Regions from separate parts of the Homo sapiens genome. Here region 1 is linked to region 2. Evidence: promoter capture Hi-C in 16 types of primary human blood cells and fetal thymus (Javierre and others, 2016). All regions are on one chromosome and are shown on one strand. Each heading gives the region's core, a stretch centred on a gene start or on the middle of the fragment in contact. The rest is flanking DNA. Distances are from core to core; before and after follow the strand shown. Region 1 has its middle 74 kb from the start of PSKH2. Region 2 holds the start of CA2 (carbonic anhydrase 2).

The links. Contacts are between HindIII fragments. The CHiCAGO score rates a contact against its expected background, and 5 or more counts as called.
Region 1: a fragment that was not itself captured here is called in contact with the fragment with the promoter of CA2 in region 2 in 17 of 17 cell types (endothelial precursors, megakaryocytes, neutrophils and 14 more); the score reaches 25.5 in endothelial precursors.

What each region holds. Positions count from the first base shown.
Region 1 is chr8:85,992,168-85,998,693 of GRCh38, reverse strand. No RefSeq gene overlaps it. Among named protein-coding and RNA genes, the nearest start is that of PSKH2, 74 kb to the left of the region's middle. The HindIII fragment of the contact is 4,213 bases long and covers 1,203-5,415 here.
Region 2 is chr8:85,458,692-85,465,267 of GRCh38, reverse strand. It overlaps CA2 (carbonic anhydrase 2), which reads right to left and starts at 1,261. Exons shown (of 7, transcript NM_000067.3): 1 at 1,153-1,261. The coding sequence starts at 1,186. It overlaps CA3-AS1 (CA3 antisense RNA 1), which reads left to right and starts at 353. Exons shown (of 3, transcript NR_121630.1): 1 at 353-686; 2 at 2,467-2,532. RefSeq lists enhancers at 653-1,152, 3,053-3,748 and silencers at 796-1,265, 1,376-1,695, 1,766-2,025. The HindIII fragment of the contact is 7,146 bases long and covers 1-3,011 here.

The DNA of each region.
Region 1 (6,526 bases), core at 2,060-4,559, 530 kb before region 2:
GCCTTATCTTAAGAAATGAGAGGACTGAGATGGGGAGAGGCAGCATTTAAATTTCAAGGGGTAGCCTAGGAGAGAAGTCATCCTAAGGGAAGTAGTTTAGCCATGGCATAAATAAGACCTGAGCATTGATGAGCACTGATGAGCACTGATGAGCATCCTTAGCACCACATATAGGCCATTACCTAAAACCAGCCTGGTGGAGAGGTGTCTATGGAATGAAAGATTTGAGTGTAATTCTGTGGCTCCTCAGAGTCCTGTTGTGGGACTCTTTTTTTTATAGATGCAATGGAGGAGAGAAAGGCTTTCAGCTTTTCATTTGCAACTAATTTCTAAGTAGTTCTGGAACCACAAGTTTAGATGGCTCTGCAGTGACAGCATAAGCCACCATATTGCAGCAGACAAACTTTGGCTCAGAGCTGAGCATTGAGCAAAAATGGCAGCATAGGCAAGTGGCAGCCTGGAATGAAGCATTGATAAGACTGTGGTAGCTCAGCAGAGCCAAGCACTGATCACTAGTGATGAGAGGTGAGCCCAGCTCCAAAATGATTTGAAGATGCATGTAGACATCCTCAGCAGTTCCCAGAAACCCCAGAGTTGTAGAGAAGCTGAAAGTGCAGCAAAGATGATGGGCAGATAAGATCTTGATGTTAAAATTCTTGTAATAGAATTGGCATCCAAAGTGGAACCCAGAAATGGAAACTAGAAGATGCTATTGTCACTTTTCAGGAGCTCAGCCAATCTTACCTGAGCTCTAGTTTAGCATATAGTTACATTTTAAATTAATCACACCTTTTCCATTAGAATTAATTGATTTATTTATGACAATGGGACTGACACTGTTAAAGAACTGATGCTTGGAATGGATGTAGACCCTTAGAAATCCAGGCTTGAGCAAATATGTGAACTACAGCAAGTTTGAATTAAGATTCCAGAGGCCTTTTTAAAGACTCTAGTCATATATAAAACACTTGGCATGCGTGTTGGAAGGAAAAAAATCATGAGTGCAAGGCCCATTAGTTTGCTGCCAATGAATCCTCAGAAAGATACAGAGAAAGTTATTCTTAAGTCACCCTTCTAACATCCTATCTTAGATGTTGATTTTTTTTTAACCTTTAGCTAGATGTGGGGCAAATACTTTTATGGAACCAGAATCTTTGGATATGAGATCCATTTTATAACACTAAGCTTCAGCATGCCAAGCTTGGAGAAAGAAAGTTCAGTTATTACCAGAAGTCATCCAGTTTTCCCCTTGGTCATCATAGGTCACAGCTCTCTCCAGCTCAACTCCATGAGTACTTCCTATGTGTATGGTGCCCTGCTAGGTTACTACAGCATCCTGGGAAGCACATGTAGAGGGTGTGCCATAAATGCCAAAAGGAGTTATTGACAAGGCGTTCCATCCTAGTTGGAGGCACCAATATATATGTAATAGAAATTAATAAATAAGCTGGACATGGTAGTTCACACCTGTAATTCCAGCAGTTTGGGAGGCCAACACAGGAGAATTATTTGAGGCTAGGAGTTCAATACCAGCTTGGGCATTATAGTGAGACCCTTTCTCTAAAATACATATATATATATATATTAGCCAGGTGTGTTTTGGGATGTTGAAATGGGAGGATCAGTTAAGCACAGGGGTTCAAGCCTTCAGGGAGCTACGATCATGCCACCACACTCCAGCCTGGGCAAGAGAGTGAGACCCTGTCTCTGTCCATCATTCAGTCAACCAGCCATTGCTGGCATTTGAAGTTAGCTTTAAAGGATACATAGAGTTCTGACAGGTAGAGAAGGTCTGGGAAAAGCTATTAAGGTACATAGGGGGAAATTGTGCATCAATGGAAACTACACATTATCTACAGATTACCCCTCCTGGCTACCTGATTCTATGAGAGCTATTTTACAGTTCTGTAAGTTGTGGGTAACTGATAGCAATGTGTGCTAGCTTCCACAGGCTGCTGTAACTTTGTGGCATAAAACAATAGAAATTGATTCTGTCATAGTTCTGGAGCCAGAAGTTTGAAATCAAGGTGTCATCAGAGCTCCACTTCCTCTGAAGACTCTAAGGGAGCTTCCATTTCTTGCCTCTTCCAGCTTCTGGTGGCTCCAGGCATTCCTTGGCTTGTGGCTGCACCTCTCCAACACCTGCTTCTGTGATCACATTGCCTTCCCCACGTCTGCTGCCAAATCTCCACTGTGGGTGTCTTATAAAAATATTTGTCATTGGATTCAGACCTCAGCTTGGTAATAGAGGATGATCTCTTCAAATTAAAATCCTTAACCTAATTACAGCTTCAAAAAGCATTTTTCCAAATGAGTTAACATTCACAGGGTCTAGGAATTAAGATGTGGACATCTGTTATTGGGCTTCTATTATTCAACCCGCTAAAATGCAAATAAATTTTGTCCATAGATATGCAAATTCAATTTTTCTGGTAAAGATTCAGTTGACTTCCCTACCTCTCAACCCTTTTGGAAAAATCAGGTTTGCCTCTATTTTCACATTCATTTAAATACTCCTGATTTATAAATGAGTCTGTTCTTTAGATTCTCTTTTCAAATGGCAATGACACCTACCTGGTATCCTCATTGATTGAGTTAAATGAATAAAATCTGTAATGTGTTCATTTTATATAAACATAAAAGTTATGAATTTGGGGGATAATTATCTTTTAAAAATAGCTTTAAGAGAAAAGTGCTGATTGAAAAGAATGTTATAATCATTTATTTACTTGTTCTCTCTTTCTCTCTCTCCTCCATTAAAATGTAAGTTTCGGCCGGGCACAGTGGCTTACGCCTATAATCCCAGCACTTTGGGAGGCCAAGGCAGGTGGATCACGAGGTCAAGAGATCGAGACTATCCTAGCCAACATGATGAAACCCCGTCTCTACTAAAAATACAAAATTAGCTGGGCGTGATAGTGCATGCCTGTAATCCCAGCTACTCGGGAGGCTGAAGCAGGAGAATTGCTTGAGCCCAGGAGGCGGAGGTTGTGGTGAGCTGAGATCACCATTGCACTCCAGCCTGGGCAACAAGAGTGAAACTCTGTCTTAAAAAAAAAAAAATCAAGGTTCACAGTAGCAGGCATTTTTTTCCTGTTTTGTTCACTGATGTATTTCTAGTACTGAAAAAGTGCCTGACACATATTAAAGACATCATAACAACTATTTTTTTAGTGAGTGAATGTTGGATTTTAAAAAAATGAGCAATCTGGGGTGTTTTATATTTAAAAGCACTTGGTGGGAGTGAATGTGCTGAAGGAGCAGGGTGCAAATTGCTGGTGTACTTGAACGCCATGCCCAAGCATTTAGCCTTTGTCTAGGGGTGATGAGGAGTCATTGAAAGTGCAAGCCAATCTTTTACTGAGTTCTGCATTCATCTTGGTCTGTTTTTCTGAAACCAGACTATTAAGGCTCTAGCCAGTAATATAATGATTTCTGCTCCGTGTATAACATTTTTCTTTTTGAAGGGCAGAGAATTCGGATTTTACTAAAATGGAGATTTAGTAATGATAAAAGATAATAATCACAGTGGTTTATAAAATGACATGAAGACATCAAGCTCAACTTCTGGCTATTGGTGTTTGAAAAAGAGATGAAGAATTTTACAGTGAGCAGACACCAATATACATTTATCTTAGCATATCTGTATACATCAGAAATTCTTTTTGATGTAATAATATTGTTGAAAAGATCATTAATATTTATTTCAGAATAAAATATGGTATTTAATGATTTTCAATTCCAGATCCTAGAAATCCATAAATATGAAAGAATCTAGTACAGCCGGGCGCGGTGGCTCATGCCTGTAATCCCAGCACTTTGGGAGGCTGAGGCAGGTGGATCACAAGGTCAGGAGATCGAGACCATCCTGGCTAACACAGTGAACCCCATCTCTACTAAAAATACAAAAAATTAGTCGGGCATGGTGGCGGGCACCTGTAGTCCCACCTACTCAGGAGGCTAAGGCAGGAGAATGGCATGAACCCGGGAGGTGCAACTTGCAGTGAGCTGAGATTGCGCCACTGCACTCCAGCCTGGGCGACAGAGTGAGACTCTGTCTAAAAAAAAAAAAAAAAAAAAAAAAAAAAAATCTAGTGCAAAACCAATAGATGAAACTCAGAAACATGGTGGGAATTCATGCCTAGTTTCTAATTTTCTGGGTCTTTTTTTTTTATCTCTATTTAGTTTCTAAATACATATCAAAATATTTTTCTGTGTTACCTAATGTGTCATCATGTCATCCAACATAAAAGAGTATATGCTGAACTCATCGAAGGCTTGTTTTTATAAGTTGATATTTTTGGTAAACAATCTGTACTTTAAATTGATGAATCTTGAATTATTTACTGCAAGGAACTCTGTCAGATTGAATGTAAAATAGCATAGAATTTATGGTAAAGTCTGAATTTGCTCAGGTCCAGGAGAGTCACAGGGCATCTCTTGTTCAGGGACAGTCCCTATTCTCTCTTTGTATTCTGAATCAATGGCTCTGTTGTAGTCAAGGCTACGGTGACGCATTGTGAGGCCAGGGAGAAATACAATCCCAGCTCTGAAGTTGTTGGAAAGAATACAGATTTGTGGAACACAAATTAGTCTCTAGTATGTTTTAGTGATACTTCGGATCATTAATGACCTGAATTTTCTAGAAGTTTAAGTTTCTCTTATTATTAACCCAAACCAAAATTACCCTATTGTTTCCAACCAAGCTGTTTTCTCTCTTATGAAGTCATTTACCCATGTAAGAACAAATTTTCTAAGTATTCACAGAGAGTTTAAACAGTTTTCAGGGGCAGAGTGCAAGGGAAAATCACAGTTTAGAGAATATAAAAACTACGGATATATTTATACTATTATAAATCTCACCATGAAATTATATTTTAATGGGCTGCCAAATGAATCGAGACTAGGAAGAATAATAGCTTGAGGACCTTTAAGTGTTTTTTTTCTATTGACTAAACAGAAGAACTGTAAGGAATATTCCTATAGGAATATGTCTTAGAACTAGAAAATTCTCTTTCTAATTGGTTGAGAAATAACACCATAAATTGATCTTAGTTAATGTTGCTTGTCTCCACATACCAACTGCAAACTTAAAAGAAGTTTTATTTATGTTTTAAAATACTACTACTTCTGTCAGAAAAAAACTTAAGAAAAGTATTCCAGACTAGTTCATTCCACATTTTTATGATTAAATAAACACATGCTCACATACACAATATCACCTGCAGGAAATGAATTGACCATGGTCATGGTCATCCTATCTGAGTTTAAAGGGTGAAAGAGGCTCTAATGGGAAGAGGATTGAAGAGCATAAATCTGAGGCAAGAGGAAGGACAAATGAGCACTGTTTACAAGGCATGGAAACAAATCACCTAATTAACTAGCACATTTGCAGTTTCTACCCACGGGTAAGCTTCTTTGGCTACTAACACTTGAGCAGGCTGAAGAGCTTCTGGAGACATAGATGTTAATAAGAACTCAAAAGGCTGGGGTCGGTGGCTCACGCCGGTAATCCCAACACTTTGAGAGGCCAAGGAGGGCAGATTACCTGAGGTCAGGAGTTCAAGACCAGCTTGGCTAACATGGCGAAACCCCTCGTGCTCGCCTGTAATCCCAGCTACTTGGGAAGCTGAGGCAGGAGAATCTCTTGAACCCAGCAGGCGGAGGTTGCAGTAAGCCGAGATCGTGCCACTGCACCTCAGCCTGGATGACAGAGTAAGACTCCGTCTTGGAAGGATGGAAGGAAGGAAGGAAGGAAGGAAACTCAAAAGATGGTGGATCTGACATACAAACATGATTGATTAGTCTCTATTCTTTATTGTCCTTACTGATAGGGTGGGTGTATGACTTTTTGGTTAATATCAAGTGTTTATTGGTGAAATAAGTACATATCCTTTTAGTTAAAACCTTTTTAGCTGAGAAGAGTGTTAATAAGAGAAGGGTAGAAAAGGCTTGGTGAGGGTTAGGAATAATGTTGAAGGTGTTCTGAACACTAGATAAGGCTGTAGTTTCACTTATTTTGTTATTTCTATATGCCATAATATCCATATTATTCATTGTTAAGAAGGTAATCAAGAATTATTTTAATAATTCTTGTATTATTTAATGAAATATATTATTTAATACATATGTATTAATATATTAATCTGTATTATTTAATACAGATTATTATATGTATTAAAATATATGTATATATTTTATATACATACATATTTAAATATGTATGCATATATAAATAATACATATAATATAATCATGTATTATTTAATAATAATACATATAATATAATCATGTATTATTTAATAATAATACATATAATATAATCATGTATTATTTAATAATAATACATATAATATAATCATGTATTATTTAATAATAATACATAAATGATTTCTCCAGATATCATGGGAAAAACAGGAGTTTAATTCCTGTCATTTTAATTCTTATTTTTTCCAAAATTCAATCCTTTATAGATACCAATTTATTATGACTTGGTACACTTAAAAAAATCCACATACAGTAAACT
Region 2 (6,576 bases), core at 12-2,511:
GGGAAAGAAGACATGTGAATCCCCCATTGTGGGGAAAGGTACACCCAGACCCCTAGAGAAGAGCAATCATTCCGGAGCCAATCTGCTCAGTTCCAATTTTAGAAGCATCACTTAACAATGGGCTAAATTTTGGGAAAACACGTAATCTGTGCCTCAGTTTCCACATTTGTAATATGGGATAATTAGAAATCTACCTCATAGATGTCGCTGTAAGAATTAGAATCGATATATGTAAAGCTCTTAGATCACTGAGTGCTATATAAATATTAGCTATTTTAAGGTCGTTTTACTGAAATTCAGCAACTGAAATCGGGCAGACACTAATGTCAGGGCTTGTGGTTGCGATTTTGGGATATGCAAGCTCACTTAAGACATTCAAGGAGGTCTGGATCCTTTCCTCACTGCCCAGGCCCGGGCCCACCCCACCTTTAACCGTCAGGGTTCCCCACTACCTGGGAAGCCCCACACCCTCCAAAGATGCGCTAGGTGCGCCAGACGCATGCTCCTCTGCTCCGCTGGCTCCGAAGAACCAGATCTGAGGCCAAGATAAAACCCGATTCCTGATGTCCGACCCCCTAACATTAGAAGTCGAGAGATGAAGGGAAAACTCGGAAATCAGAGCCATGGATTCAAACCAGCACTGGAAAATGCCCCGGGACAGTTCGTGCTGAGCGCCTTAGCCACAGGTGGTGCTGAAGCTGGAGGGGTGGGGTGGGGGTGGAAGGTGGGGGAGGGGGGAGGGGAGTCTCTTAATTTCTCTGCGATCAACAACTAGAATTTTCCGTTACAACCCTTTCCCGCCTCCTCCTAGGTCCGGTTAAAATGATCCCCAGGTCGGGACCCGGGAGGGACTGTCCTCGGGTCCCGCGGCCAGGGCTGCGCCTCCCCTCCCTCGGGCCCTACGCGCCTCCGGCGGACGCGGGGATTCCTCCACAGTGGCCTCGCAGCTGGGGCAAGGGGGACATCCCCGGCGCCGCGGAGCCGCGAGCGGAGCGAGCGCCCGGGGCGCACCTGAGCCTCCAGCACTCCCCGCGGCCGCGGTAAACAGCATGTGCGGGCGCTGCGGGCCCCGGGCCGGCATCCGGGCTCGGGGATCGGGGATCGGGGATCGGGGATCGGGGCGCCCCCGCGCTGGCCGTCGCCGGCACTCACCGTTGTGTTTGCCGTACCCCCAGTGATGGGACATGGTCGCGCTGGCGGTCGGGGCAGGGCAGGAATCGGCACCGATCTGGCGGCGGCGGCTTGGGCGCCTGCACTGTGTGTCCGCGGGTCGCGCCGGCACCAGCTTTTATAGGCTCCCGCCAACTTCGTGCTCGGGGGCGGCCCGGGGGAGGGGGCTCGGGTGGACCTAGGCGACAAGGGGAGGTGGTGACGGGCGGAGGTGAACTCCCCGCGCTCGGGGCGGGGCGGGCCGGGCGGGCGAGTCTCCGGGGGCGGGGAAAACGCCCTCTCGGCTGGCGCCCGGCGGGGCTCCGGGGCTCCGGGGCTCCGGGGCTCCTCTCCCGCCGCCCGGCTCCCCTCGGCCCACGGCAGGGCCCCGGTGTCCTGGGCTGGCAGCGAAGCTCGGAGCTCTGGGCGTGCGGCGGCTGCGGTGGCTCCTGGGCTCCTCCGTCCAACCCGGGCCGCGGAGCCTCTACGCGCACCCCATCCCCCTCCCGGCTGCGGAGTCTGGCGGCGGCGGGGACTGCTCGGGACCCGGACCCCCGGCGCCTTTCGTCCCCTGTCCCCATTGTGACCTGTCTCTTGGCCCCGGAGCCCTCCCGCCCCACCCGCGCCGGGGTCTCCAGCGCGAAGGGCTCAGTCTCTGGTGTCCCCGGCCTGGGGCTGGCAAGCTGGGTTAGGAGCTATGACCTTGGGGCAAATAGGGATACGATCCTAGAGGCGCAGGGGAGCGCGCAGCATGAGTGCTGAGAGGCACGCGCCCTCTGCTGCACGGCCGTGGAATAAAACGAGACAACGGCCCCACAGTCCCCTGCCCGCAGCCCACGCTCGGGCGAGCCTGGAGGATTGCATTTCCTCGTAGGCTGGCAGAGCCTTACATGAAGCGCTCATCTTCTCCTACTTTCCTCCTCTTTAAAAAATTAACGTGGGTGAGGAGACGTCCTAGTTGAGTACATATTGATTTGAAATAACCAAAACTTTTAACAAATCACTTTTCTCAGAAGAATCCAGTAAGAGAAAGATAATTTCTTCCAAAGACATGAGACGTTCCCTGGCTGGCCAAGAAAAATTGGCATCTGGCATACCTAGGAATCATTCAAAATAGTTTAATAGGAAGGACATTTTGAGGCCAGCCAGCATTATGACATTTGTGGGTCCTACGGCATTTCACCTTGGTGGGTCCCTTTTTCATAAACACGCATTTATACCAACACTGACATAAAGATAAATATCTTAATATTATATATTTAAACATTTTCTTTAACCAACACCTAATTTTTTTCTTTTTTGTTCTTATTTTAAAAGGAAACATTTTCCTGGGCATCTAAAAGTATTGTGGACCTGAGACACTGTGCTTACAGGGCCTACTGGGTAAGTGAGGCTGTTTTGAGATATAGAGAGAATTCATTTCCTACAAGGGATTTTGCCACAGAAAAATCCGGGGGTTTGTGGGAAGGAGTTCGGTTCTGTGGTCTCTGCAATCTCTGAGGGCAATAGTATTAGAGTTACAGTTGGGGAAGCAGGACACAGTTTAATGTGATTGTGTCGGCCTTGACATCACATTACTTACCTTTGAAAATATACAGATAAATACAAGGATAAGTTATTAGTGGACATTTTTGCAATATGTATCTCAAAATCACTCTTTACTATTTATTTCAGTCAATTTCATCCAAACAAATATGATTCATGTTTAGACTTACTTGTTCTAAGATTCTAGAAAATTGTGTACTTCTGCTTATGTGGGTTTTGGGTTGATGTCACAGGGAATTCTTAGGCAAGAAAGCAGCAATAAAGTTTTTAAATTTTTAGGACCATTACAAAATGGAGTTTGTAGCAAAGAAGAAGCTTTTATTTGTGCCTCTGTAGGTGCATTGTATCTGTTGGGGCCCATTGATGTAATTTTGTTTCTTTACATAATTTTCAAATATTAACTTAGTTGCTATGAGACTCTTCACTTGGCCCTGGAGATATGGCGTTGATAGGTGCCAAGAATTGAGTGCAAAGTTTGTGAATGTAGAGTGGCTTCCCGGGATTCTGTGGAGGGAGCCAGGCGATTTGATCAGCAGGAATCCTTGTCTTTCATTTTCCGTGAAACTGGATTGTGGCTTTCCTAACAGGGATGAAGTAAGAGCATGTTTGATTCTTAAATATGCGTAAAACTTCAAACACCACCAAACTGCAGTTCACCAAATGGATTATTGTCATGGGAATTTTTCCTTATCTCTCACTTCTGGAAAGTGAATTAATTCTCAGTGGGAGCAAGCCCTCCCCACAGAGCTGCTGTTAGGGAGAGTGTCACATGTTCACCACAGGGTGGAGAGTGGTTCACCTTTGGTTACTCAGAAGCAATCTAAATTTTTTAGCAGCGTTTTTGGTATTACAGTGGTTGGCTTAGCATTGTTTTATTTTCCTGGTCAATTTTTTTTAATGGAGTTAACTTTATGCATTCATGTTGGTCAGTCCCAACCTAACTTTATTTTACTGAAGGCATTCTTCTTAGCAGGCTGTCATGATTCACTAGCTGCAAAAGACTACTCTAATACTGGATTTGTTCAAATAAAAAAAGTGCTTATCTTATTATGTACCTATCTTTCCATTAGAGGGAAGGATGGGTTCATTTCAGAATAATCTTAAGTAAAGGAACTGACAGTAGCTTAAGAAAAGTACTTTTCTTTGCCCCAGAAAAAAAAAAATTCAGGCAGTATATCAGGAAAATGTAATGTAAAAAAACTTAAAGTCTGTGTTCCAATTATTATAATAAAAAAGCTTCTAACATATTATTCTTAGTAAAAATGTGAAAGTATTTGCTTTTTCTCAAAAAATGTAAAGATATTGTTAAAATATTTTACAAGGTGAGATACACATTATTTATTAAATATTTAATTAAAAAGCTAATAAAAAGCCAGATATTCTCATATTTGTTACCATTATAGTGTTTAAGTAGATATCTGGGGCTGGACTCAGTGGCTCCCGCCTGTAATCCCAGCACTTTGGGAGGCCAAGGCAGGCGGATCGCTTGAGGTCAGGAGCTCAAGACCAGCCTGGGCAACATGGCAAAACCCCATCTTTACAAAAAATAAGAAGTTAGCCAGGCATGGTGGTGTGCCCCTGTAGTCCCAGCTGCTTAGGAGGCTAAGGTCGGCAGATCGGAACCCAGGAGGTTGAGGCTGCAGTGAGCCATGATCATGCGACTGCACTCCAGACTGGGAAACAGGAAGACACTGTCTCAAACAAAATAAAAATAAATAAATATCTATGAAGGCCAAGAGCCATTTGTTTCTTGGGGCTCCCATAGGTCTTTGCATACACATCCTTCTATCCTAATATTGGCAATTCTGCATTGTAATCAGACACTCTATTGTAATCATTGGGTTATAATCCAATGCCCCAATAAGCTGTTGACTGCTCATTTGTAAAGCAGGAATAATGACACTCACCTCATTGTTGTAAGAATTCAGTCAGTGAGCATAGATAAATCACCTGTCACGTGTAGGCACTCAGTAAATGATGGCTATTCAGTCCCTCCTAGACAGTGCTAAACAGTTAGAATATAATTTAAGGAATGCAAAATTAAACACCTGGGCCAGGTTCATGGGAAACATTTAAGAGGAATGAGTCTCCACAGCAGGAGGTGTTTTTTTGTTTGTTTTGTTTTGTTTTTTTTTGTGAGAGGACAGAGGAGTGTTTGGGTCATGGAGATGTCCATTCTACCACGCTTATGTTTTTCTTCCTAAACTGTGCCCCCTGAAGTTGAGTACTGTGTCACATTATTTATCTCTGTATCTTAGGCACCTAGTACCCTTTACCTAGCCTGAGTCCCAAGATACATATAGTAGTTACTCACATAGTACTCCTTGAAATTATAAACTTTGAAAAATCCAAATGGAGATAATGGCAGTTTCACTTTGCAGAAGTTAGTAAATAATTTTGTTACAGATTATAGTTAGCAAATAACATTGTGCTGAAATTAGGTTGGTTTTGAATCTGGGTTAATTTACTAGCTTTGTGACTTTGGGCAAATTTCTTGATTGTGCTAAGATTCAGTTTCCTCATCTATAAAACTAGGATAATAATAATACTTACCTCACAGAGTTGTGGTGAGGACTAAGATGATACAGTGTGTGAAGGATTTAACCTAGTGCCAATAATTAGAGCTTGATCAATGTCAGTTATCATTACTACCGTTACATGTTTCTCAGCTCCTATTTTGTGCTTAATATTTTCTATGTGCTAGGTGAGCTACACAAGATAACTTGTCTCATCATCCATTCACTCAATGAATCATTCTGAATGCTATTATGTGTCAGGCATCAGCACAGAGGCTATAGCCATAAACCAGATCAACATGACTCCTGCCCTCACAGAGTTTACATGGGGATGGATGGGGGTACTGTACAATAAATGACTCAAAATAAACAACAAAAGTAAATTTCCAATACTGAAAATTAGTATGAGGAAAGTAAAACAGGAATGAGGTAAAGAATAATGAGTGAGGAAATCCTACTTTAGATGCGGTGGTTATAGAAAACCTATTGAAGGAAGTACATTTGAGGAACCACTAAAAAAAGATCTGGGGGAGGGCATTTCAGGCAGAGGAAACAGCAAGTATAAAGGCCCTGAGAAAGGAAGTTTCTAGAACAGAAAAGCTTGTGACTGAAGCATGGTGACTGAGGAAGAAAAGACAAGTAGTGGAGTCAGAGACAGTCAGGGGCTACAGCCTGCAGAGCCTTGCAGACAATGATAGCAAGAAAGGATTTTATACTAGTTGCGCAGGGAAGCCACTAGGGAGTGGCTTATGCACAGGTATATTATGTGCTGGGAGGATATAATACAAACCACAACAATATATCATTGTAGAATTAAAAGAAGTTTGGAGGTTACCTGGTCCAACTATTTATTTTATAGATGAGGAGACTTGTAGAAGTCCCCAGATACAACACGCTGTTGCCTAGCTCCTTGCTTTTATTCATCTGACAACTTCCTTTACAGAAAGATCCAAACTTCTTCTTCTGACTATAAAACCATTTAATCCTGTCTCTGGCTTCCCTCTTGGACTCTGAGTCTCTCAATATCCTTCTTTGGTAAGATGTGAGGCAGCATCACAAGTGGCCAAGAGCCCAGGTTTTATAGTTTGGATTCAGCTTCGAGGGCTTCTTCACTACATGATCTTATATACTTATTTCACCTCCTCAAAGCTCAGTTTCCAAAGGTGAAATGTAGTAAGAGTACCCAGGGCTGCTGATCGTGGTAAATGGACTAGTTTGTGTGAATTGGTCCTGTGAATGAACATGATTCCTGGTATGTTGTTAGCTGCTCCATTAGGATTATTGTTATTGTAGTCAAGAACCATAGAATTGTGAAATGGGAATCGACTTTGTAATAAGACAGACCTGAGTTCATACTCTGACTCGA